Linked DNA regions of Homo sapiens: regions 1, 2, 3, 4, 6 and 7 are each linked to region 5. Evidence: promoter capture Hi-C in 16 types of primary human blood cells and fetal thymus (Javierre and others, 2016). All regions are on one chromosome and are shown on one strand. Each heading gives the region's core, a stretch centred on a gene start or on the middle of the fragment in contact. The rest is flanking DNA. Distances are from core to core; before and after follow the strand shown. Region 1 overlaps TTC23L (tetratricopeptide repeat domain 23 like). Region 2 has its middle 170 kb from the start of RAI14-DT. Region 3 overlaps RAI14 (retinoic acid induced 14). Region 4 overlaps TTC23L (tetratricopeptide repeat domain 23 like). Region 5 holds the start of RAI14 (retinoic acid induced 14). Region 6 overlaps RAI14 (retinoic acid induced 14). Region 7 overlaps TTC23L (tetratricopeptide repeat domain 23 like).

Region 1 (3,468 bases), core at 629-3,128, 240 kb before region 5:
CTCCTATTTCTACCTCAAGCCTGAAAAAAGTGGTTTTCATAGCCCTTTTTTTACTTGAAAAGAATATTTGTTCTGTAGAATATGAAATACAAAATTTTATGAACTTGGGGTTTCTATGCAAGTTGCACTAAAGACAGGCTCATTCTCTATTACTGGACTGTATAAAATATAGAAAGCTATCTGGCACTTTAACTTCCTTTGCAGTAAACCAGGAGATAATGAGATTCCAAATTAGCTGAAGAAATAGGCACAGATTAAGTTAGTTGCCCAGGGGTCTCATAAATTCAGAGGTGGGCAAAGAACTGTAAGAGGGCTGCATCTCTGCTAGGGATAGTAAGTGGGAATCAGCCTCGGGCCTACTTCTGTCGCACCACAAGGTGGCAGGATTCCCCTTGTCTGAAACCTGAAAGGACAACTGATTTCCATAGTGTATATATTATCTTTGAGTTTAGGTGACTGTGTCAGACTGCTTGTCTATGAGACTAACAGTGTTTCCAGAACCTGATAAGTCTATATCTTTTTCGAGATGTTAACCAGCAAAATATTTTCCACATCAGCTTGGTAGTAGCTTTTCAAAATATTCAGCCCCTATCTCCGTTTGCTTCGTGCAACAGTGGTGCCAGTAGAAGGTAATAAAGTCAAAGACCAGCTTTCAGTAAAACTAAAAATAGCTGTTACTTAGTACATGATTACTATGGGGCCAGGCACTCTGCTAAGCACTTTACATATAATGCATTATCTCATTTATTCTCACAACAACACTGAGATAGGTACTATACTTCATCCCCATTTTATAGATGAAGAAACCAGGATTGCCCATAGCTAGAAAGTGGTAGTCCTGGGGTTTGAACTCAGGCTTGCCTGTCTCCAGAACTACAGCTCTTAACCACCATGAATCAAAAAGATTAATTCATAGGGATGCACTGAAGTCATATTTCTATGATCAGATTAAATAGTTGATGAGATAATCATAGTTCATAAAGACTTTATGTCCTAAAGTGGGGCCAAAATTCCTTACCAAACTGCAAAAGTATTCATGTATACCCTCAGGGCAAGTATACACTACACCCTTTGCTTTCAACAAAACCAAACCTTAGTTTCTCTACTTTGATTCTAAAGACAGGGCAAGGTTTTATTTGCCAAAATTTAAATCACTGATCATTTCAAAAAGACTTTAGGTATGTAAAATACAATGGTTTCTAAAAAACTGATTTGCAGCCAGGTATGGTGTGTTCATGCCTGTAATCCCAGGACTTTGAGAGGCTGAGGCGGGAGGATCACTTGAGCCAAGGAGTTGGAGGCCAGCCTGGGCAACATAGTGAGACCTCGTCACTACAAATTTAAAATATAAAAATAAAAATGTTAAAAACCTGATTTGTTCCCAACATGCCAATAAGGAAGGTTTTGTATATATATGTATTTTTTTTAATGTTTAATTTTTTTTTTATTTTTCTTTAGGAGACAGTCTTGCTCTGTTGCCCAGGCTGTAGTGCAGTGGCACAATCTCGGCTCACTGCAACCTCCACCTCCCAGGTCAAGCAATTCTCCTGCCTCAGCCTCCCGAGTAACTGGGACTACAGGCGCATGCTACCACGCCCGGCTAATTTTTTGTATTTTAGTAGAGACTGGGTTTCACTGTGTTTCCCAGGCTGGTCTCGAACTCCTGAGCTCAGACAATCCACCTGCCTCAGCCTCTGAAAGTGCTAGGATTACAGCATGAGCTACAGCACCCAGCCGAAGGTTTTGTATATTAAAAGTCCTGAGAAGCCCTTCAGAAAAGTAACCTGTGTCACTTTGTTTAAACCTGTTTTTTTTGTTTTTTTTTTTCCTTAAATGATTTTTGTCTTTCTGCTACAGAGCCTTTCTTCCTCCCCCAGAGAACTGGCACACATCCCTTGGAATCAGCATTTCTTGCAGCCCCTTTCAGGACATGCTGCCCTGTACAACAGCTGTAAAGTACTTACCATTCCTCCATACACTGCCCTCTGTCATGCTTCTGTGCCTTTGTATGTAGAGTTCCTTCTTCCAGGAATGGCTTCTCTTCTCCATCTGGATGAACTGCTACTTGTCCTTTAAGAAATGGCTCAAATGTCACCCTCTCTATGAAGTGTTTTCCAATTCTCATAGATTGTCTCTCCTTTCATTGCACTGAGAATGCTATTCCAGAACTTAAATTTCATGTTATTATTTCTTCATGTTTTCTCTTACACTAGAATGTTGTCCCCTTAAGATTAATGACCATGTTTTATTTATCTTTATTACCACCTGCAGCTCTAACTGCACCTGGCACTTAGTAGGTGCTCAAAAAATGTTTGTTAAAGGAATGAATGAAGATGAAGAAACTGAGACTCAATGTTTAAGTGACTTAAGGTCGCATGGTTTTTGGGATTCACACACAAGGTGCCTTGACTCAGAGTACAGTGCTCTTTCTCTATACCTGAACAGCAAGTATGTGGTAGAAGTCCAGCTGTTCCCCCACCCGTACCCCAGGGCAGACAACACTAATAATCAAGCTCCACCAAACCCAGCCTTTTGCTCTGGAACCTCAAGCTCTGCCTGCCCTATTCCATGCTATCCTCTCCTATCAGACCATTTCTGTGGGCGTGGCAGAGTAGCTGGGGATTGCAGAGCTCCCCACTGCTCTGCTAAAGATAAGGTACACTGAGCTGGCTCACTGTGGCTTAGCAGCCCTTGTTCCCCATAAAAGAGACCCTCAAGCAGGGAACTAAAGGCTTCTGAGTTTTCACTTCTCTACCTGCCCCAATGCCTCCAGCTAGTCCTAGAATCCTGATTTGGAAAAGCTGCTGCCCCTTGTTTGGCTACCTGGCTCTGGTGGAGCAGATTGTGCTCCTCACTCACTCATACCAAGGTTTGGCCAGATATTTCCTCCTTAATTTTGTAGATGGAGTGTTGGAATGTTTACTAATAAATAATAGGAAAAGAAGATGAATGCAGCAGCCTGGAAACAACCCAGCTTATGGAACATACATTTCATCACTAAGGTCTTGCCCAAGACTGGTCTGGCTGATACAAAATGTACTGCAGCATATCACCTCCTTTCTTTTTCCTTGCTCACTTCTCTCTGGAAATAATCACCTCCCAAATCCCCATCTCCACCCTACTTTCCTTCTCCAGCCCCTCAGCCCAAAAGAGGCTGTTCCATTTTGTTCATATGACCAAGAGGACTGAATATCACTAATAGTTTAATAGGCATTGAGGCACCTTCCTTACTCCCCTCTTATGAGGAGAAAAGGATGGTTCTCCCTGCTCCTTCTGTTGGTTTCTACAGCTTTATACCCATCAAAAGGTATATCAAAATAACTTTTCGGTATGCAGCTGTTCCAGAGACATCTGACAGATAGAAAGATAAAGTTGATAACTTCATGCTTTCATACATCCAGTAAGTTTGATGACTAGGTAGAGTTGTTAAAATGGCTGATATTTATTGAGCACTTAACAGTATACCAG
Region 2 (3,758 bases), core at 115-2,614, 170 kb after region 5:
TAAGGTCACCAGCACTCCACCATCTTTATTTGTCCCCCATTTACCCCGTCGCTGCCTGGCCCTGTCTGCAGACTGTGGTTTCCGGGACACATGGGCTAAGCCTGGCAGCACAGGGCCGCAGATTCTCAAAGCTTTACCTCTGGATTCAGTCACTAGAAAGCTGTGCAGATGGTGTCACATCTCTCTCGAGCACTTAGTGGCTCTGGAGTAAATATTTGTGGGATAATAAATGAACAGTTTACTGCAGGACTCGCTGAAGTCTGCCTAGGGCCACATCTTGAGACAGGCTGCCTGCTCCCGCTGTCCCTGCCATCCCCCCAGCGTCTGGCTCACCCACGGTCTATTCTGCATGTCTGCTGCATGCATTCAGCTTAGAAAAAGCCGACTCCCAGAGGGCAGACACTAATATGAGTGCAATTGAGGATACTTTTTTCTTCTTTTCAGAGAAAATGAATGAGGAGTCATTCAGAAGCCTAAGGAGAAGATCTAGGAGGAGCTGATAGAAGAACAGCCAGTGCTGCTGAGGACTGGCTACTGTGAAGGTTGTGCAGTTTGGTGGGAGCCCTGGGGAACTCCCTTCTATCCTGTGTGTGATTGAAACCCTCACCCCACAATAAACACACACACAAACACACACACAGACACACACACATACAAATCCAGAGAAATGCAAAGCCTGCTCTTGCTGGGTGGGCCTCATGGCTGCTCCTCTGATCAATGGCCCACCAGAAAGGGACAAATAGACTAAAAACAAAGTTTGTGTCTAAGAACACAAAAGTGGTTTCTCCAATGGGAAAATAGGCCCGGGCTCTGTGGAGCTCCTCCAGAAAGCCCAGCATAGGGCCCAGGAGGGGCCAACCCCCCCCCACCACAGCCACCACCGCCCCCCCGCCCCCGCCAACACCCCCCCGCGCCACCACTGCCCCCGCCACCCTCCCCTCCCGCCCCTGCCACCCCCGCCCCCTGCCCACCCCCGGCCAGCCGCTGTTTCCTTGCTGCTGCTTTCACCTCCGGCTCCACTCACTTGCTGATACTTTTCCCCACTTGAAATCTGAGCCCAGGCTGATGGTTGTCAAATCCCATGGGCCCAGTGCTTACAACAGGGACACAGAGAAATGGCCTTTGAAGCCTGCACTTGAATTCAGCCTTGCCTCTCGCTAACTGTGTCATGAGGAGCAAGCCACTAAATCTCACGGAAGGTGAAGTTCCCTAGTCTATAGAGGGTGACTCCTCCTGGTACCTGGTACCTGTAAGGAGGCTGCGCATCCAAACAAATCAACCCAGTCAAGGAACCACGTTTAGTAATGGGATAACTAGATGCTAATTAATTGTACCTCTTCCCCCTCACTCCAACTTACCTTATGTACCAGTAGTCAAAAAAGGACGGGCAAGAAGGGAGAGAAGGAAAGGGAAAGAAAAAAGTAGAAGACTGACAAGACCATTCCTGGGTCCTTTAAGTAGTTTCAACAACTGTAAAAATTACATAGCAATCAAAAAGACTAGAAGAAAACCTAAGATATTAAGCAGTGAAGGTTATTTGTCAGTGAGAGAAATATAATTTTTATTTTCTACTTTCATAATAAAAAATACTTTTTTAATTTTTTTTTTTTTTGAGACAGAGTTTTGCTCTTGTTGCCCAGGCTGGAGTGCAGTGGTGTGATCTCGGCTCACTGCAACCTCTGCCTCTTGAGTTCAAGTGATTATCCTGCCTCAGCCTCCCAAGTAGCTGGGATTACAGGCACCCGCCATCATGCCCAGCTAATTTTTGTATTTTTAGTAGAGACAGAGTTTCACCATGTTGGACAGGCTGGTCTCGAACTTCTGACCTCAAGTGATCTACCTGCCTCAGCCTCCCAAAGTGCTGGGATTACAGGCATGAGCCACCGTACCTGGCTTGAAAAAATACATTTTAAAGATAATCCCCTCCCCCCAATACTTCTCCCCAACTCCTCCTGTTTTGCACATGTTTAACATGTGCAATGTCACAGGGCGCCTTAGTTGGAGCATGAGGCATCCTGAGTCCTTGATGACACAGGCAGGCAGCAAAGGAGGAGGACACTCACATGGGAAAAATAAACACTGGGAAAGGGAGAGAAGCCAGACACCCAGCCCAGCAAGGAGCACAGACAAGGAGAAACCCCGGGTGGCAGACACTATTGGCTCTGGGGGATCATGAGGAGCCCAGGTAGGGCGTGAAAGGTGAGGGGATAAAGGTATCACTAGCAAGACCTGGGTGGGATGACAAGACAACAGCCAAATAGGCTGGGGCCCCAAGGGCTAATCTTAATATGGAAGTAAGGTGATGATGATAGGGAAATCGAGGCAGAAGCTCAGTTCTGTGGTTGCCAAGCACAGAAACCCTTTTACTTAAAATCTCCATGACACCCAGGGTTCTTCCCAGAACACAGAACCCAGGAGATGGGCGTGTGACATGATGTCAGGTCACACTAGGTCTGAGGCTGACATGCTGATGTTCTTTCTGCTGCTGGCCTGATAAACTCAGAACATGGGCAAGGCTGAGCCCGAGGTAGAGGACAGCAATGACCAAAACTGTGAGGAGCTGTTGATGGACAGGAGGGTGAAGATATCAAGCTTCAGAGCTGTCAGTTCCAAGGTGGAGGACTGGCTCAACAGGAAGGTCTAGTAACACAGGGTGGTGGTGGGGCGGGGGTGGCTCTGCTATCTGCACACGAGTAGGAGAAGCCAAGGAAACTCTGGGCTTTATCACAGCTTAAAAAAAAAAAAAGTCCCATAGCATAAAAATGCAAAGAATTTATCAATAGTGAAGTTCTGTGAATGATCATGAAATAAGCTTTCTTTTAAAAAGATTTTCTATAAGAGAAGAAATACATATTTATTATAAAGTTAAAAAAATAGAGAAAGGTATAAAGATGACAACAACATCACCAAAGCTCCATCATCCAGAGATAACCCACAGATAACATTTTGGTATATTTGCTTCAGTTTATGTTTTATTAAAAATAAAAAGGCATTAGTTTCTCCAAGGTGGGGCAAATAAAAAAATAAAAAGACAAAAATCAAAACATTATTGATTTTTGTTTTAGTTTCTTCTAAACTTAAATAAATTGCATATGTATTTTATAATATTTTCTGATGTCTTGAGGATGTATGTGTCAACAACATTTTTATTGGTGGCAATATATTTTATTAAATTAATATATCAAAATTTATGTAAACATTCCCTTACTGTTTGGCAGTAAATGGGCTTCATTTTTTTTGTTATAAATAATAATGAGGCAAAAATGTAAGCATTCAAACCTGCTTATGTCCCCGACAATTTCTGATGATAAATTCCTAGAAGTAGAATGACTAGATCGCTTACACATTTTCTATGATTTCTCTGCGTAGCTCAGTGACTCTATTATCTCTCCTGCTAAACTCAGTTTCTTACAAAACAAAATACAATGAAACTTTGCTAAATAAATAGACAAAAGTAGTATTGGCATACATTTATCCTATGATGGGTGATAAAATGAAGATCCAAAAGCTTTTGGCAGGCTGGAACAGCATCTCAGATGTTTCCAATGACAATTCTTAGGGATATGGTCTGGCATTTAGAGTCACCAGACCAAACGAGTGAAGTACAAGATGAAAGAGATGTGACATAACAACAGGCAAGAGGAGTCATGTGAATCAAAAAAAAAAAAAAAAAATGCTCACTATCTTTGGCCGTAATAATAAAAGTATAGAGTCCAGAACAGGAGGATGATGGTCCTGCTCTGCTCTGCGTGGTCAGA
Region 3 (3,278 bases), core at 721-3,220, 160 kb before region 5:
GGCACAATGTTGGTTCACTGCAACCTCTGCCTCCCAGGTTCAAGCGATTCTCCTGCCTCAGCCTTCCCAGTAGCTGGGACTACAGGTGCCCGCCACCACACCTGACTAATTTTTTGTATTTTTAGTAGAGACGGGGTTTCACTGTGTTAGCCAGGACGGTCTCGATCTCCTGACCTCATGATCCACCCGCTTTGGCCTCCCGAAGTGCTGGGATTACAGGCATGAGCTGTGAGCCACCGAGCCTGGCCTAGATATCACTTTTGTCTCCTCCCTAAGCTAACGTAGGAATAAATGTCACTTTTTATCTTGTTTTTTTTTGTTGTTGTTTTTTCAGAAATGACAGTCTTATACTCTACCTCTGAAAAATCATAATTTGTGATATTCTTCGGATTGCACTGCTTCTTTGAGGCACAGTCATATCAGAAGATATTATCGTACTAACTATAAGAGTATAGTTGCCTTGTCTTACATAGAAATTCATCTGAAGAGTTTATTAGTAAAGTCTAAAGTGAGGGAAATGATAGGTTGATAGAATCTGTTTCAGATTAATGTGTATCCAAGTTAAAAAAAAACATCTTTAATAATTCTAAATAAGGGAAAGTAAGTAAATATAAAATATCGAAATTTCATGTTAACAATTATAAATTTTATTTCCCCCTTGAGTACAATTTCTCAGTATATTAAACAGATATTAAATGGAAATATCCTCCCACTTCCTTAAAATGTTTTGCAACCACAAATCTACAGAACCAGGTGGATAAAACCTAATGGATTTTCTAACATTTGTAAAATAAATACATATTACTTTTATAGTCAGGAAAAAAATTAACTATACAATTCTCAGTAAGACAACAGAGAATAACACAAGTTTCTGTCTCTTTGATTGGAATTAATATAAACTTAATTGGGTAAGAAGACTGCTTATCTAGTAAGTTCTTATCTTTGTCTCTTTTTAAAAAAACTTTAGCACTTTGTATTTGGAGCAATTTAAGATTTATAAAAAAGTTGCAAGATAGAAACCTTCACTTATTTCTTCTAATGTTTACAACAGATGTAGCCATTATACATTTGTCAATTGGTAAATTACTACTATCTAAATTACAACTTTATTCAAATTGCGCCAGTTTTTCGAATAATGGCCTTTTTCTGTCCCAGGATCCAATCTAGAATATTTCATTATAAATAGAGAAGTTCCTGAAATATAATTTTTGGCATTTCCTCAATATTCTGCATTCAGGAAAGAATGAGGAGAATAACAGGTAGAAGCTGGTAACTTCCACACCTTATTTTTGAAAAAATTAATTTATTTTTTAGTTGACAAATAAAAGTTGTATGTATTTACCATGTACATCATGATGTCTGCAAATACGTACATAATGTGAAAAGGCCATGGAGCTAATTAATCTCACACACTTATCATTTTTTGTGATGAAAACACTTAAAATCTGCTCCCTGAGTGATTTTCAGAATCCAATGCATTGTTATTAACTATAGTCACCATGTTGTACCATGGATCTCTTGAACTTATTCCTTTTATCTGGATGAAATGTTGTACCGTCTAGCCAACATCTCCCCAATACCTCCCACCACTCCCCCAATTATCATTCTACTCTCTGCTTCTATGGGTTCAACTTTTTTAGATTCCATATAAGTAAACTTTGTCCCTGCTCCCCACCACAAGACACTCGCTCTGTCGCCCATGCTGGAGTGCAGTGGCCCGATCTTGGCTCACTGCAACCTCTGCCTCCTGGGTTCAAGTAATTCTCCTGCCTCAGCCTCCTGAGTAGCTGGGACTACAGGTGCCTGCCACCAGGCCCAACTAATTTTTGTATTTTTTTCTTTTCTTTTTTTTTTTTTGAGACGGAGTCTCGCCCTGTTGCCAAGCTAGAGTGCAGTGGCGCGATCTCGGCTCACTGCAATCTCTGCCTCTTGGGTGTAAGTGATTCTCCTGCCTCAGCCGCCTAAGTAGCTGGGATTAAAGGTGCGCACCATCATGCCCAGCTAATTTTTGTACTTTTAGTAGAGACGGAGTTTCACCATGTTGGCCAGGATGGTCTCGATCTCTTGACCTCGTGATCCACCTGCCTCAGCCTCCCAAAGTGCTGGGATTACAGGCGTGAGCCACCAACCCCGGCCTAGTTTTTGTATTTTTAGTAGAGATAGGGTTTCGCCTTGTTGGCCAAGCTGGTCTTGAACTCCTGACCTCAGGTGATCTGCCCACCTTGGCCTCCCAAAGTGCTGGGATTCCAGGTGTGAGCCACTGCACCCAGCCCTCTTGTCTCTTTTTTTTTTAAATGAAGAAAATCAATTATTGGTTTGTAAATTTAATTTATTCACTCAATGATTTTTTAAAAATTTTAAATTATTATGGATACAAACTAGCTGTACACATTCTTGCTTTATGGGGTCCATGCCAGAAAAAATAATCAAGGGGTACTTCATGGTGAAAAGGTTGTGAACCAATGATTCAGAAGTATATTCTGTTTTTCCCAGTGTTATATAACTTAAAGCAAGTCTATCATGTATCTTAAAATACAGTAACAAAACTGAATACAGAAAGGAAATACCTTGAAGGGTGGTTCAGCAAAAAATACCGATTCCTTTCCCGATAGTGGAGTCGAAGTTATTGATCTTGGGGAAGAGACATCACTCAACTAAAAAAGAAACAAAATGAAAATCATTAATAAAGAATGTATCTTCAAACTCCTCTTCTCCAGTGCCGAAGAATCAACCTGTTTAACCAATGCAATGAAATCTAACAGTAAGTATCCTTGGCATCAATTAATTCACGGGTAGAATATTTTCAGTGCAATTCAGCTACTTCAAATACTTTCTGAAAGTTTACAGAATATAACTGTGCTCCTATATTAGAATCACTTTTTTAAAAATCTATAAAACTTCTATTGCAGGTTAAGAATATTAATAAGTATGCTAACATACATTTAAAAAATACTTATGAGATGAGCTATTCCTCTCTACTATTTAAATATGGATTATTCTCTTTATGGCCTATGAATTTTTAAATAACAAATTTCGATGTGTTTTTACCTGCCATTACATAGATTACTGAGCTTCCTCCTCTATGCAACCGTCACTATAAAGCTCAGAAATGAAAACTACTTTTAATATTAGCCAACCTTAAAAGCAATTAAAAAGGCAAATGTATTGCAGCAATGTTTTAAGAAACGAACTGAAATTCATTTTCAACTAATTGCCTCAATGGCTACTCATTCTCCCAGTCCTTACTAGATCTTTTAACATAAGGAACTAAAAATAAA
Region 4 (3,281 bases), core at 227-2,726, 220 kb before region 5:
ACAATTATTTAAGGCAAGCTGCTAACCTTTACAAATGTCTAATATCAGCTTTGGCTCAATTGACATTTTCATGCTTAAAGTCCATGCTTGTTCTCAAGCCAGGTCTCATAAGGACTCTTTAAAAGTCTAAGATGTGTGGTTTTTTTGCTGTTGTTGTTTTCTTTTGTTTTTTGAGATAGAGTATCACTCTGTTGCCAGGCTGGGGTGCAGCGGTGCAACCTCGGCTCACTGCAACCTCTGCCTCCTGGGTTCAAGTGATTCTCCTGTCTCAGCCACCCGAGTAGCTGGAACTACACGTGTGCGCCACCATGCCCGGCTAATTTTTGTATTTTTAGTAGAGATGGGGTTTCACCATGTTGGCCAGGACGGTCTCAATCTCTTGACCTCGTGATCCGCCCACCTCGGCCTCCCAAAGTGCTGGGATCACAGGCATGAGCCACCGCACCGAGCCCTAAAATGTGATTTAATGACATCAGATGATGTTTTGGTTTTTATTCTCCTTATAAAATCCATGGAATTTTTTGTAGCAAAAAAGAAAGCTTCTGTCTGAATAATCTTATTATGCTAATACTACAAATAACTACCATATTAAACTCCCAGGTATACTGCAAGACTATATTTTTAGCTAAATAAAACTCTGATAGTAATGTTTACTAAGGTTCCTGTTTGGGGGGTGCTGGGAGGGAGTAAGTTGTGATTTTATAAGTATTTTAAATATATAGTTGTTATGGCTTGAAAATTTAATTTTAATGTTGTGTCTTTCCAAACATAATACGTTTATATCAATCTAGAAAATACACAGAAACAATGGGAAAATTTTGCCAATACCATACTTTTCTTGTGTGTAAACTTATGGAGTACAAGTGCAATTCTGTTACATGTATAAATTGCATAGTAGTCACAGCTTTTAGAGTATCCATAACCCAAATAACATACATTGTACTCATTAATTTCTCATCATCCACCCCACATCACACCCTTATGAGTCTCCATTATCTAACACTGCACTAAGCCCATGTGCACACATTTGTTAGCACCCATTTATGAGTGAAACCTTGATACTTGACTTTCTGTGTCTGGCTTGTTTCACTTAAGATAATGACTTTCAGTTCCATCCATTTTGCTGCAAAAGACATGATTTCATTCTTTTTTATGACTGAATAGTATTCTATTGTGTATATGTACCACATTTTCTTTATCCAATCATCCACTGCTGAATACTTAGACTGATTCTGTTATCTTTACTATTGTGAATAGTGCTACGATAAACATACAAGTGCAGGAATCTTTTTGATATATACCTTCCTTTTCTTTTGGGTAGATGCCTAATAGTGGGATTCCTGGATCAAATGGTCATTCTATTTTTAGTTATTTGAGAAATCTCCGTACTGTTTTCCATAGAGGTTGTACTGATTTACATTCACACCAACAGTGTATGAGAGTTCCCTTTTCTCTGCACCCTCACCAACATCTGTTTTTGTTTTTTTGTCTTTTTCATAATAGCCACTGTGACTACAGTAAGATGATTTCTCATCTATACTGTCTTCATTGCTGTGGTTTTTTAGTAAGTCTTGAAGTTGGGTAGTGTTAGTCCTCCAACTTTGTTCTTCCATGTTGTTGGTTATTCTGGCCTCTCCATGTAAACTTCAGAATCAATTTGCTAATATCCAAAAAATAACTTGCTGAGATTATTATTGGAATTGAGTTGAATCTATAAATCAAGTTGGAAGAACTTTATATTTTTTTATTGAGTCTTCTTATCCATGAACATGGAATAGATATTAAAGATATCTTAGTTTATTTTAGTTCTTTGATTTCTATTTTTTTCTTTTTGAGATGGGTCTCACTGTGTTGCCCAGGCTGGTCTCAAACTCCTGATCTCAAGCAATTCTCCTAACTCAGCCTCCCAAGTAGCTAGGACTACAGGAACACACCACAATACCTGGCTAGTTCTTTGATTTCTTGCATCAGAGTTTTGTTGTTTTTCTCACATATATTTCACAAATACTTTGCTAGATTTATACCTAATTATTTCATTTCTTGGAGTGCTAATGTAAATGGTATTGTTTTAAATTTTCTTGGAGTGCTAATGTAAATGGTATTGTTTTAAATTTTAAATTTTACTTATTCATTGCTGGTATATAGGAAAGTATTGACTTCTGCATATTAAACTTGTATCCTGAATCTTTTCTATAATCACTTATTAATTCCAGATATTTTTGTTGATTCTTTCAAATTTTCTAATCAGACGATGTCATCTGCAAATAAAAAGTTATATTTCTTCCTTCACAAATATTATAGTATAGTTTTTATTTCCTTTTCTTCTCTTATTCCATTAGCTAGGTCTTCCATTATGATGCTGAAAAGGAGTGGTGAGAGGAAACTGTCTTGTTCCCAGTCTTAGAAAAGCTTCTAGTTTTTCACCATTAAGAATAATGGTGTTGGCTGGGCACAGTGGATCACACCTGTTATCCCAGCACTTTGGGAGGCCGAGGTGGGTGGATCACCTGAAGTCAGGAGTTCGAGACCAGCCTGGCCAACATGGTGAAACCCCGTCTCTACTAAAAATACAAAAATTAGCCAGGCATGGTGGCAGGTGCCTGTAATCCCAGCTACTCAGGAGGCTGAGGCAGGAGAATCACTTGAGCCCAGAAGGCAGAGATTGCAGTGAGCTGAGATCACACCGTTGTACTCCAGCCTGAGCAACAAAAGCGAAACTCTGTCTCAAAAAAAGAAAAAAGAAAGAAAGAAAGAAAAAAGAATAATAGTGTTAGTCAAAGGAGAACCAAAAAAAAAAAAAAAAAAGAACAATGGTGTTAGCTGCAGGTTTTTTGTAGATGTGACTTATCAGGCTGAGGAAATCCCCCTGTATTCCTAGTTTGCTGAGAGTTTTTAATCATAAATGAGTGTTGGATTCTCCCAAATGCTCTTTCTGCATCTATTGATATGATTATGTGATTTTTCTTCTTTAGCCTGTTGGTGTGATGCATTGATTGAGTCTCAAATACTGGACTGGCCTTGCATACCTGCGATAAATCCCATTTGGCTGTAGTGTATAATTCTTTTTGTACATTGATGGATTCAACTTGCTGATGTTTTGTTAAGGATTTTTGCCTCTATGTTCATGAGATGTATTGATCTGCAGTTTTGTTTTTTTTTAAATCTTGATAATTTTTTTTTATTATACTTTAAGTTCTGGGGTACATGTGCAGAATGTGCAGGTTTGTTACTAGGTATACACATGCCTTGGTGGTTTGCTGCACCCATCAACCCGTCGTCTA
Region 5 (3,329 bases), core at 332-2,831:
CAGTAATAAAATTCCGAGCCACAGGGCGAACAGGGACCTGCAGGCTGGGGACAGAGCAGCCAAAATCCAGCCTCCCTGTGATTCCCGACCTCTTCTCCAACTCTGTGCAAAGCCCGAGGAGGTGAGACTCTCTTCGCTAAGGCGAGCTTCGGCTATGTCCTAGTGATGGACAGTTCCTCTCTGCCAGGCCCCTGCAGCCTTGAGACCACATTCCCCAGAGATCCGGCAACGTTTCCCCATCCCAGGCAGCTGGGCATTCTCCTCTCCCGGAAGGAAGACGGAATCCCACCCCGATCATGCGTGAGCTGCGGCGAAGAGAAGCCGCTGGTCCCGAGGCGAGGGGCCTCGAGTCCGCAGATTCCCCTCAACATTTCTGGGAGTAAAGTTGGGCTTAGCTGGGCTCCTGGCAAATAAAGAGGAGCCTGGAAAGACAGCCATGCTCAGGCCCCCGTGAGGCCACTTCGGACCCCTCCACGCTGTGCTGGGCTGCATCTGCCTTAATTCCCCGTCTGTTGCTTCTCCAGGCTCTGAGCCCCCTCCACAAAAGGGGGATGCGAAACTCAAAGGAGTTAGGATGTCAACCCTGCAAACCGCAGAAACTAAACCGACACCAACCTGCCCAAGAAGGCAGCGAAGGTGGTTGAGGACGACACCCCACCCCCCACCCCCCACCAGGCAGGGGTCGCGGGAGATGGCGGGCGCCTTTCTGGTGGCTCCACGTCCTCCTTACTCCCGAAGTCCCGGCGGCCCCGAGTCTGCCCCAACTCCAGCATCCGTTCTCCCCGAGCTGCGGCGGGGAAAACAAGGTAGGGGGCAGGGGCAGGCCCAGAGGGGTCTCGCCCCCGCCCTTGGGCCGGCCGAGGGGCTCCCTGGAGTCAGAGGAGGAACAATAGCGGACCCCGCGTCCTGGGAGCCACCCGGAGTCTCCCGCTCGCACCTCCCTCCCCACCTCCTCCAAGTTCAGCCGGGAGGCGGATTGGGCTCAGCAGCACCGACGCGGGGGCAGCGAGGCGCCGCGCGGGGCGAAACAGGTGGGACCCGGCGCAGACTCCAGGGTGCATCTCCGGGTCTGCTCATTCATTCCCACCCGCGCTCCCTCCGCCGCGGCCCCTGCCCCGCGCCCCGCCCCAGCCGGCCTGCGAGTCGCGGAGGACCCGGGAAGAACCCTTCTCCTAACTTGGCCGGGTCTTCCCGCTCTACCCTCATCTCCACCTTCCTCTCCTTCCTCTTGTCCCCAGATCTGCTCTCCGCAGACAGTGGGCTGCCGGCGGTGGACCAGGGAGAGGTGGCGGGACCCCGGCTGCAGCCCGCTCAGCCGCTCCGCCCGGGCGCCGTCCCCAGCGCCTCCCGCGCCCGAGCTCCAGACACAAAGGCGGGGACACGAGCCCGGGACCCCGCGCCGGGAGCCTCCCAACTCCGTGCCGCGCACTCACCCCATCGAGGCGGCGGCGGCGCTCCCCGGACCCAGCTGGCTGCTCCACCCCGCCCGCCGCTTCCCCAGGAAAACGCGGCCGCCGGGCTCGCTTCCTGCTCGGCTTCCTGCGCCGCAGTCCCTCCTCCTCCCCCGCTGCGGGGGTCAGTGGGCGCCGAGCTCCCGGGCTAGGCCGGCGGGGCGGGGGCAGCGGCAGCACCACCACGTGGCCGCCGGGCGCCGGCCCCCGCCGACCTGGATCCAGTGGGAGCGGGAAGGGAGGCGCTAACCATTCCCCTCCCATTCCACCCCTCGCGGCCCCAAATTCCGCGAGTCAGGTGACCCGGCCCCGGGCTCTGGCCGGGACCTGCGGGGGGTGCTCTCCGCCCTCCAGCCCCCGGCGCATCTCCCCGGCCCGCGCGTCCCGGCTGTTCGTGGCTTGCTTTTAGTCTCCAGGGATCGTGGGACCCTTCTCCGCGGATCTGTTTCATCCTCTTAACCTGAAGTTAGTGGAAGCCCCCCACGCTCTGACCCCTGGGTTTAGGACGGATGAGATCCCAGATACTGTTTATTTCTGATTAACTTCCAAAGTCGTTTGTGGTAGTGGCGAGTGTTTCAAAGTCACGGATCCAAGCCCCTTCTGACCAGAATCTAAAAGGTTGTTTTCCAAAATCATTGAACAGAAAGTAAAGTAGAATGTGCTCACGTTCTCCGGACTGAACCAATTGGTTGAAGTGACTGTTTTCTAGCACTCATTGGGTGGCAAGGCAAGACTACCACCGTTCAGTGTTGTTCTGCTCAGGAGTTAGAAAGGAGAAACCTACAGCCTGAACTGACAGGCGAGATTGCGCATGGGAACGCCTTCAAAATAGTGTGTGAGAAGCCACGGGGTACAGGCTCACTGCCCCAGGTCCCCGACAGCTTCTCTCCCTATCCCAGCCCACTAAGGCCCGACCTTTCAATTACGATGGACTCCACCATTAATTCCAAGGATTTCAAAGCTCTCTATCTACCCACTCATCTAATTTGGGCTGGCTTTTCCATGCATTCTAGTCATGCTAACCAGCTGTGACTTCAGTTCTGTTCACCTAAGCTCCTCCCTTCTCCTCGTTAGCTCTGCCTCCTTTGCTCAGGGAAGAAAGCTTTCTAGAATAAATAACGTATTGAGTTCTTTCTGGGATCTACTGTAAGTCAATTGAACTTAAGAGGGAAAAAAGGTCGATTCCAACAAAATTGAAATTCACCCTAACAGCTCAGTTTATAACGTGTCAGCTACATACTAATATTTATATGGCAGATATTACCTGTTCCCTCCCCCCGCCCCATCCCCCTTTCCTTCCTCCCTCTCCCTACTAGGGAAGAGCCTATCTCCCCTTTAACAGTTGAACTTGACAAACAAGCATCAAAAGCCTTGTAACTAGGTGCAGGGTCTTCACTTCCTACAGCAAAAGTTCCTTAGCCAAGTGAGGAACAGCTAAAGCAAGATGTACACTCCTCTTCCTGTCCTTTATCCCTCTCAAACAAAGTCACACTGTAAAAGAAACATGAACTGACCAACATTCTTTTGGTTTAATGCTGGCAATTTCTACAATAGTGTTTCATCGTGATTCTTGTTAATGACATATTGTAGGGTATTTAAGGGGAACATTACTGCCTGTGAGTTTTCTGCTCTATTTTTGCAGGTCAGTCTGGTTCAAGTAGGGGCAGCTGGGAGGATGGGATTTGGAGCATGGTACAGGTAGATGATGCTGTCTTGGAAATTTGACATGTGTGTATTCTGTAGGAACAGTTGACATTTTGAAGGAGTTAAAATATTAGACAACATTAAACAATGATTGTCTAAGGCAGGCACATCTGACTTTGATTCACAGAGGTCCTGTCCCTCTTCTTTTTTCTCTGTCCCAGCCACCTCCAAAGA
Region 6 (3,520 bases), core at 46-2,545, 180 kb before region 5:
TGGCCATGGCGGGAGGGGTGTGCCATCTTACATAGTGTAGTTAAACAGGGCCTCTCTGACAAGATGACATTGAGAAGATACCTCAAATCGTGCAACAAATTGTGCAAATATTTAGGAGAAGAACATTCTAAGATGTTAACAGCAAGTGCAAAAGCCCTGAGGCAGGAACAAGTTTAATGGGGTCAAAGAACAGCCAAGGGTAGTAAGAATGAGGAGGAAAGAGACAAAAGACTGTGTCAGTAAAGTGGTGGGGCATCAGGTCATGGAGGGCCTTATAGGCAATTCATCCGTCTAAATATTCATCTACCCACTCAGTGAATACAGAATACCTGCTAGGTAGCAGGCCCTGATTGGCCAGCTATGAGCTCCTCGTGAGCAGGAGTTGTTATCATTGAGCCTTTAGCATTCAGCACAGTGCCTGGGATATATCAGTGTTAAAAAAGAAAAACAAAACAAAAAAAACACATAAACTACAAATGACCTTTAGGAACTCCATTAGTAGAGATTCTCCCTGTGTGTATCAGTTTCCTATTGTTGCTGTAATGTCACCACAAACTCAGTGGCTTAACAAACCACAACTTTATTATTGTATAATTCTGGAGGTTGAAAGTCTGAAATGGGTGTCACTGGGCTAAAGACAAGCTGTCTGCAAGGGTGGCTCCTTCTGGGAGCTCAAGGAGAAAATTTTTTCTTACCTTTTCCAGCCTCTAGAGCCTGGCTGCATTCCTTGATTTGTTCTCTTCATCTTCAAAGCCAGCAGCAATGCAGCATCTTCAAATCTCTGACCCTTCTTTCCATTTTTAAAAGACCCCTCTTGTTATACTGGGCCCACCTGGATAATCTTATTTAAAGGTCAGCAGATTAGCAGGCTTAATTCTATCAGCAACCTTAATTCCTCCTTGTCATGTAACTTATTCACAGGTTAGATTCACAGCTAACATATTCACAGGTTCTGAGGATTAGGACATGGATGTCTTTGGGAGGACTTATTCTGCCTACTAGAGTGTGTAACTTAAATGCATGGTTTTAAAAACATATGGAGGTGACACATAAGGAGCCCTCTTCTCCTGGCTGTTAGCAGCTTGCATCATTTGACTGTGTCCTGCTTCTTTCCATCCCTTACTGATATGGTTTGGCTGTGTCCCCACCCAAATCTCATCTTGAATTCCCACATGTTGTGGGGGGAACGTGGTGGGAGATAATTGAATCATGAGGGTGGGTCTTTCCTATGCTGTTCTTGTGATAGTGGATAAGTCTTACAAGATCTGATGGTTTTAAAAACGGGAGTTTCCCTGCACAAGCTCTCTCTTTGCCTGCTGCCATCCATTTAAGACGTGACTTGCTCCTCCTTGCCTTCTACCATGACTGAGAGGCCTCACTAGCCACGTGGAACTATAAGTCCATGAAACCTTTCTTTTGTAAATTGCCCAGTCTTGGGTATGTTTTTATCAGCAGCATGAAAACGGACTAATACTCTTATGTATCCTCCACTTTATAATCTGGTACATCCAGTTACGGTTCTTGAATATGCTGTTTCTTCCCATTTTAGAGCCTGCTTTATAGTAAGTATGCAGGAATGTCTCTGCTTTCCTCCTACTCGCCTCGTGGGGGCTTTACTTCTCAAAGGAGCCTTTCCATCTGCTGGAACCTATGTTGATTGTTCCCTTGCCCAGCTCCTATGGCTGAGTCCTTGTTCTTTTGTTTCTCAAATATGTCACACGCTCCCATAATGCTTGACAAATCTCTGCCCTGATCTGGTGAATAGAAAATTGCTACTCTTGTGAAAGCCCTAGTTCTTTGGTCTGTGGCTTTTTCCAGCTCACTCTTGGCCTTGCAGTCTGCTGCTTAACTTTGCTCAAAAAATGACCCCAATCTTTGTTGCATAATGTTTCTGCTACTGTCAGCACTCAATATTCTTGTTATGCTGCATTGCAAAATGTTGTGCTTCAACATGTTCAGGGAGTGTTTTCCCCTCACAGCGTATCATGTGTTTATCTGAAGATGGGTGGGTTTAATTATTAAAGGCTTTGGAGTTTGTCTTAAAGTGTATGTAAGGAAAACAAATTAATGACTCTTATTCAAACAACATGAAGGGAAAGGCCATTCTTTCTCAATGTGATGATACGAACAATATTCTATTCATTTTTTTTCTGCCCATATCTTGATGGAAGCTAATGTAAAAATGAGCAATTTGAAAATTCAAAAAATCCTTACACGTGTAAAGATATACATACATACATAGGATAGTCAATTGCATCATTTTTGTAGCTGCAATACTGGAAGCAATTAAATGTCCATAATGTGGAATTATCAAGATAAAATATAGCACCATACTATGCAATTTTATTCAGCAGTTAAAAAGAATGAGATGTGTATGCTGACAGAGAATAATATCCAAGATATTTAAAGAAGAAAGAAAAATACATGCCTACATGTACATATAGACAGAGAATGTCTCAGGTCACCGAAGAAACTTACTAGATGTTGCTTCTGGGTAGATGCACTAAGGATTGGGGAGTAAGAGAAAGATTTATTTGTGGTTCCTTTCATTTGTCCTACAATCTCAGCTGCTATCTAATTGTGGAGGCAGGAGAGTTTCTTTTCATATCCCAATTTTGCCTTATGAGGCGTTTCTGTCCATCAGAGATGACTGGTTTGGGTTTATCTCAGTTTCCTCTCCAGCTGAGTGTCCCCATGAAGTCACCTTCTGAGTTGTCTGGTTGGCCACAGTTGAAATAAAAGGTTCAGTTGAGTATCACACACATGCTTTCTTTGAAATAAAGTTTCAGGGTATAGTAGGAAGGCACAATGAAACTGAAGTAGAGGTGGAATCATGTTGTAAGTGAAGGGAAATGGCCTTGTTACATTGGAGTATGATAAACAATGCTAACTTCTTAAGTAGCTGTACCTATTTCATGTAATTTTGATTATGATTATAACCTGCAACAATTTTAATTATGATTTTAACCTTGCCAGAATTCACCTGACAAGAGTTTTGTCAGGAATTAATTGAATTGTCTTTGTAATGGGGCAGGAAAATGTATCTGGATTTTTTTTTTACATATGTATGTATTACTTTTTCAAAAAAAGCAAGAAGCAAGAGGGAAAAAAAATCCAGCGGAGGCTTCCAAACAGTTAAACAGACTGCAGATTAAATGAGAGGCAATTGTGAATTAAAGGCAACTGTGATTCAACTGCCCCAAAGCGGCTGATACTCAGGGCAGAGCTCAGGGCGAATCCAAGAGCTGGGAAAAGGAAATGATGTGAGACTTTGTGTGAGACAGTGCGGACAACTCATACCAGCTGAGCATAGCACAGACTAGAAAACCTATTACACTGAAATGCTATTGAACTGATCTTCAGAAGCCACGCAGATATGCTTCTGAATACACCAAAAATCAACACCAGAAATGCAAAATGAAACAAGTTTATTTTCTCCAATAACTTCTGTAAATTACAAAGACAAAATACTAAAAACTACAGCATATAACTTTTCAATATTTAACCAGAGTACTCGTAA
Region 7 (3,352 bases), core at 57-2,556, 200 kb before region 5:
AAATTAGCCTTTTGGCTGCTGGAAAAGGCTCAAAGTGAAATGAGCAAAGCAGGGCTGATGACTATAAAACATGAATGGGTGCAGTGAGGCATGAACGCACACAGACACACACATCCGCCTACACAGGAGGCCAGCTTATATATTCTGTCCACTTTAAAGCAGTTAGAGGATGAATGACAACAACACTGAGTGGAGCTGAGCAAGCACTTCATCTCTCTTGAAGATCTGCCATTTTTCAAAGCCTTACTTATTCCATGGACCAGACACTAAAAAAGCTGAAGTGAAGAAACTGAAATAAAAGCTTAAGTGAAGAAAGCAAAGAGGCACTGGGCTATTCTCAAAGAAAGCTTACAGTCACAACCTATTCTAAAAAAAAATCTAGGCTGGTATCAGAAAATCTGGGTTCAAGTCTAGGCTCCACTATACCATGTGGACACTTCATCTGACCAGCAAGCTGCCTTTCCCATCTAGGAAAAACAAACAAAAAAGTCTCTCGTACAGGAAAACTTGTGTCTCCTCCAACTTATTGCCCCAACGTAGTTCTCTATTCATGCAGCAGGAAAAACTGTCAGTTAGGGAGAAAAGGATTTATCACCATGTTTTGTGGTATAACCTGTTCACTTATCTTGACTTAACTTGGAATCTAATTGGAAAAGTAAAACTCAAAGGCAGTTTGTGGCTCATTATGGAAGGGATTGATTTCAGAAGATCTAGGCCAACCTCCTTCTAGACCTACCCTAGTCATCTTCAAGGCAAGACAGAGAGGGCAGCATCTGGCCTTGCCTAGTTTCAGAGAAATCTCCCTCTCAAATGCCTTCCTCTTCAGTTCAAGTTCATCACCTCAAGTTTGAATTCCAGTGAAAAACCCTTAGCTAGTCTCTGTGAATCTGGGCTCTCCCAGGGCCCAAGGAGTGTACTTGTCTCTACCAAACCAAGTTGCAATGACCTACCAACCGCCAAATCCATGGGTCTCTCCTCAGCCATTACCTTATTTGACCTTCCTCTACCATCTGAACTGTTGAAACCACTGTTGTACTTCTTTTCAAAACCCTCTCTCCTCCCTTGGCTTTGATGACACGGGTCCTCCTGAGTCTTCTATTTTCTTTGCTGGCCCCCCTTTACCCTACCCATTCTTAAAGCTCTTGCTCTCCAGTCTTCAGTCCTCTATTCTCTTCCCCTCTCTTTCTACACACTACTACAGAGTCTCGCTCTGTCGCCCAGGCTGGAGTGCAGTGGTGCGATCTCAGCTCACTGCCACCTCCACCTCCTGGTTCAAGCAATTCTCCTGCCTCAGCCTCCCGAGTAGCTAGGATTACAGGCACACACCACTACACTTGGCTAATTTTTGTATTTTTAGTAGAGACGGGGTTTCACCATGTTGACCAAGCTGGTCTCCAGCTCCTGACCTCAAGTGATCCACTCACCTCAGCCTCCCAAAGTGCTGGGATTACATGCATGAGTCACCACACCCAGCCACTACACACTACTTCTGATCAAGCTCATCCACTCCTATGGCCTCAACTTGCTCCTATGTGCTCATTTCTCCCAGACTAACATCTTTCCTGAGCTCTAGACCTGCTTTCAGAAACCAAACTCAGTAGCTTCTTCCCCCTTCCTCCATGATATGGTTTAGTTGTGTCCTCACCCAAATCTCACCAGGAATTGTGGCTCCCATAATCCCCACGTGTCATGGGAGGGTCCCAGTGGGAGGTAATTCAATCACAGGGGCAGGGTTTTCCCATGCTGTTCTGGTGATAGTGAATACATCTCATGAGATCTGATGGTTTTATAAACGGCAGTTCCTCTGCATGATCTCTTGCCAGCCGCCACGTTAGATGTGCCTTTGCTCCTCCTTGGCCTTCCATCATGATTGTGAGGCCTCACAAGCCACATGAAACTGTGAATCCATAAACCTCTTTTTCTTTATAAATTACCCAGTCTTGGGTATGTCTTTATTAGCAGCATGAAAACAGACTAATACACCCCACCACTTGGTCTTTCCCTTTCATTCTCGATTTAAGCTAATTGTCCAGGTCATGCCTACTTCAACTTCAATTCTTCCCTGTCCTTCCCACTCCATACTGAATGGGGCACTAAATGTCACCCATTCTACATTTTAGGTTATCTTTCTTCATTCCAACTGCCATACCCAATGCCCTCATCGACTCTCATCTGGGCAGGATAACGGCCTAACTGGTCTTTGCCTCTTCTTTCTCTACCCAGTCCAACCCATCCTGGAGTCTCTCATTTTATAACACAAGCTTGATTATTACCACCTCACTTCAAACCTTTTAATAACTCTCCACACTCCCTGATATCTGGGCCCAAATTACCTTTTCAGTCCCATTTCCAAACATGAGCTGTCTGTCCTAAGGTGTCTTCCGTCCTACCTTAACCCCCTGGGTCTACAGAGAAGCTACAATATTCTGTGTAACGAGTTTTATACAGAGTGCCCTCCTCTCACTTCCTATGCCTTAGATCAACATATATAAAGGACCAACTTTGTACTCTCTACTTCTCCCCTCAAAATCTACTTGGGGGCCAGGTGCCATGGCTCACGCCTGTAATCCCAGCACTTTGGGAGGCTGAGGTGGGAGGATCACTTGAGGCCAGGAATTTGAGATCGGCCTGGGCAACGTAGAAAGACCTTATCTCTACAAAAATAAAAATATAAAAAGTAAAAAAATCTACTTGATAAACCTATTCTCATTCTTCAAAGACAGGACAAATATCACTTTCTCTCGGCAGCCTTCCCTGACTTTCCTCAATGGCAATACCACTGAACTGCCTCCCCAGAATTTTGTTCCTACCTCTAGAATGGTACCTATCATAAGACCCCTGTGTGCTCCTAGAGCATAGGGACCACCAATATTCATTTATGTATCCCCAGCACTGACTGCAAGTGCCACCAGGCTTATAACAAGAACTCCATAAGTACTGAAGGAGTAAATCCCTAAATTTGACTCTTATCATGAAGGCAGTAAGTTTTTGAGAAAATCAGTCTGATGGGAATAGAGAGATTCCAAGTAAGGAAGCACGGAACGCCACTAGGGGAAGATCCTTCCTGGTCACTCTGAAATTTCATAGAGGTGGCTGCCTGCTCTGCCAGTACATAAGGACATTCTCCTCTCCCTAGCCATAGCACCTTCTTTCAGAACACAACACGTGTTCTTAAAGCATAAAAGGGCCTCGCTGTGCCCCCACTGTGACCCACAGCATCACTGTCCTAATGCTGTGATCTCAGCTACCTGTGATCTTGCCACATCAATAAATGAATCTAAAGTTGCATTAAAAATAAATGGGTGTAAAAGGGCCTATAGAGCCCTAAGAAGGAGAATATATTCTGAGATCA

Evidence for each region. Contacts are between HindIII fragments. The CHiCAGO score rates a contact against its expected background, and 5 or more counts as called.
Region 1: a contact is called between a fragment that was not itself captured here and the fragment with the promoter of RAI14 in region 5, in 3 of 17 cell types (endothelial precursors, naive B cells and total B cells). The highest score is 10.4, in endothelial precursors.
Region 2: a fragment that was not itself captured here is called in contact with the fragment with the promoter of RAI14 in region 5 in 3 of 17 cell types (endothelial precursors, M0 macrophages and M1 macrophages); the score reaches 18.1 in endothelial precursors.
Region 3: a contact is called between a fragment that was not itself captured here and the fragment with the promoter of RAI14 in region 5, in 3 of 17 cell types (naive B cells, total B cells and endothelial precursors). The highest score is 5.3, in naive B cells.
Region 4: a fragment that was not itself captured here is called in contact with the fragment with the promoter of RAI14 in region 5 in 4 of 17 cell types (naive B cells, total B cells, endothelial precursors and 1 more); the score reaches 7.9 in naive B cells.
Region 6: a contact is called between a fragment that was not itself captured here and the fragment with the promoter of RAI14 in region 5, in 3 of 17 cell types (naive B cells, total B cells and endothelial precursors). The highest score is 8.4, in naive B cells.
Region 7: a fragment that was not itself captured here is called in contact with the fragment with the promoter of RAI14 in region 5 in 3 of 17 cell types (total B cells, naive B cells and endothelial precursors); the score reaches 6.7 in total B cells.

The regions. Positions count from the first base shown.
Region 1 is chr5:34,895,372-34,898,839 of GRCh38, reverse strand. TTC23L (tetratricopeptide repeat domain 23 like) reads right to left here. Exons shown (of 11, transcript NM_144725.4): 10 at 1,965-2,070. The coding sequence ends at 2,062. Among named protein-coding and RNA genes, the nearest start is that of RAD1, 18 kb to the left of the region's middle. The HindIII fragment of the contact is 6,562 bases long and covers 1-3,468 here.
Region 2 is chr5:34,487,985-34,491,742 of GRCh38, reverse strand. No RefSeq gene overlaps it. Among named protein-coding and RNA genes, the nearest start is that of RAI14-DT, 170 kb to the left of the region's middle. RefSeq lists an enhancer at 254-829. The HindIII fragment of the contact is 2,461 bases long and covers 134-2,594 here.
Region 3 is chr5:34,813,959-34,817,236 of GRCh38, reverse strand. It overlaps RAI14 (retinoic acid induced 14), which reads right to left. Exons shown (of 18, transcript NM_015577.3): 12 at 2,568-2,654. Among named protein-coding and RNA genes, the nearest start is that of TTC23L, 24 kb to the left of the region's middle. The HindIII fragment of the contact is 5,167 bases long and covers 1-3,278 here.
Region 4 is chr5:34,876,886-34,880,166 of GRCh38, reverse strand. All of the region lies in intron 8 of TTC23L (tetratricopeptide repeat domain 23 like), which reads right to left. Among named protein-coding and RNA genes, the nearest start is that of RAD1, 37 kb to the left of the region's middle. The HindIII fragment of the contact is 1,870 bases long and covers 542-2,411 here.
Region 5 is chr5:34,654,580-34,657,908 of GRCh38, reverse strand. It overlaps RAI14 (retinoic acid induced 14), which reads right to left and starts at 1,581. Exons shown (of 18, transcript NM_015577.3): 1 at 1,434-1,581. It overlaps RAI14-DT (RAI14 divergent transcript), which reads left to right and starts at 1,736. Exons shown (of 3, transcript NR_183264.1): 1 at 1,736-1,916. RefSeq lists a silencer at 1,574-1,623. The HindIII fragment of the contact is 8,769 bases long and covers 1-2,555 here.
Region 6 is chr5:34,832,504-34,836,023 of GRCh38, reverse strand. It overlaps RAI14 (retinoic acid induced 14), which reads right to left. Exons shown (of 18, transcript NM_015577.3): 18 at 3,412-3,520. Among named protein-coding and RNA genes, the nearest start is that of TTC23L, 4.9 kb to the left of the region's middle. The HindIII fragment of the contact is 4,892 bases long and covers 1-3,520 here.
Region 7 is chr5:34,851,372-34,854,723 of GRCh38, reverse strand. All of the region lies in intron 4 of TTC23L (tetratricopeptide repeat domain 23 like), which reads right to left. The region is part of intron 1 of LOC124900959 (a long non-coding RNA gene); the gene reads left to right. Among named protein-coding and RNA genes, the nearest start is that of TTC23L-AS1, 14 kb to the right of the region's middle. The HindIII fragment of the contact is 1,914 bases long and covers 350-2,263 here.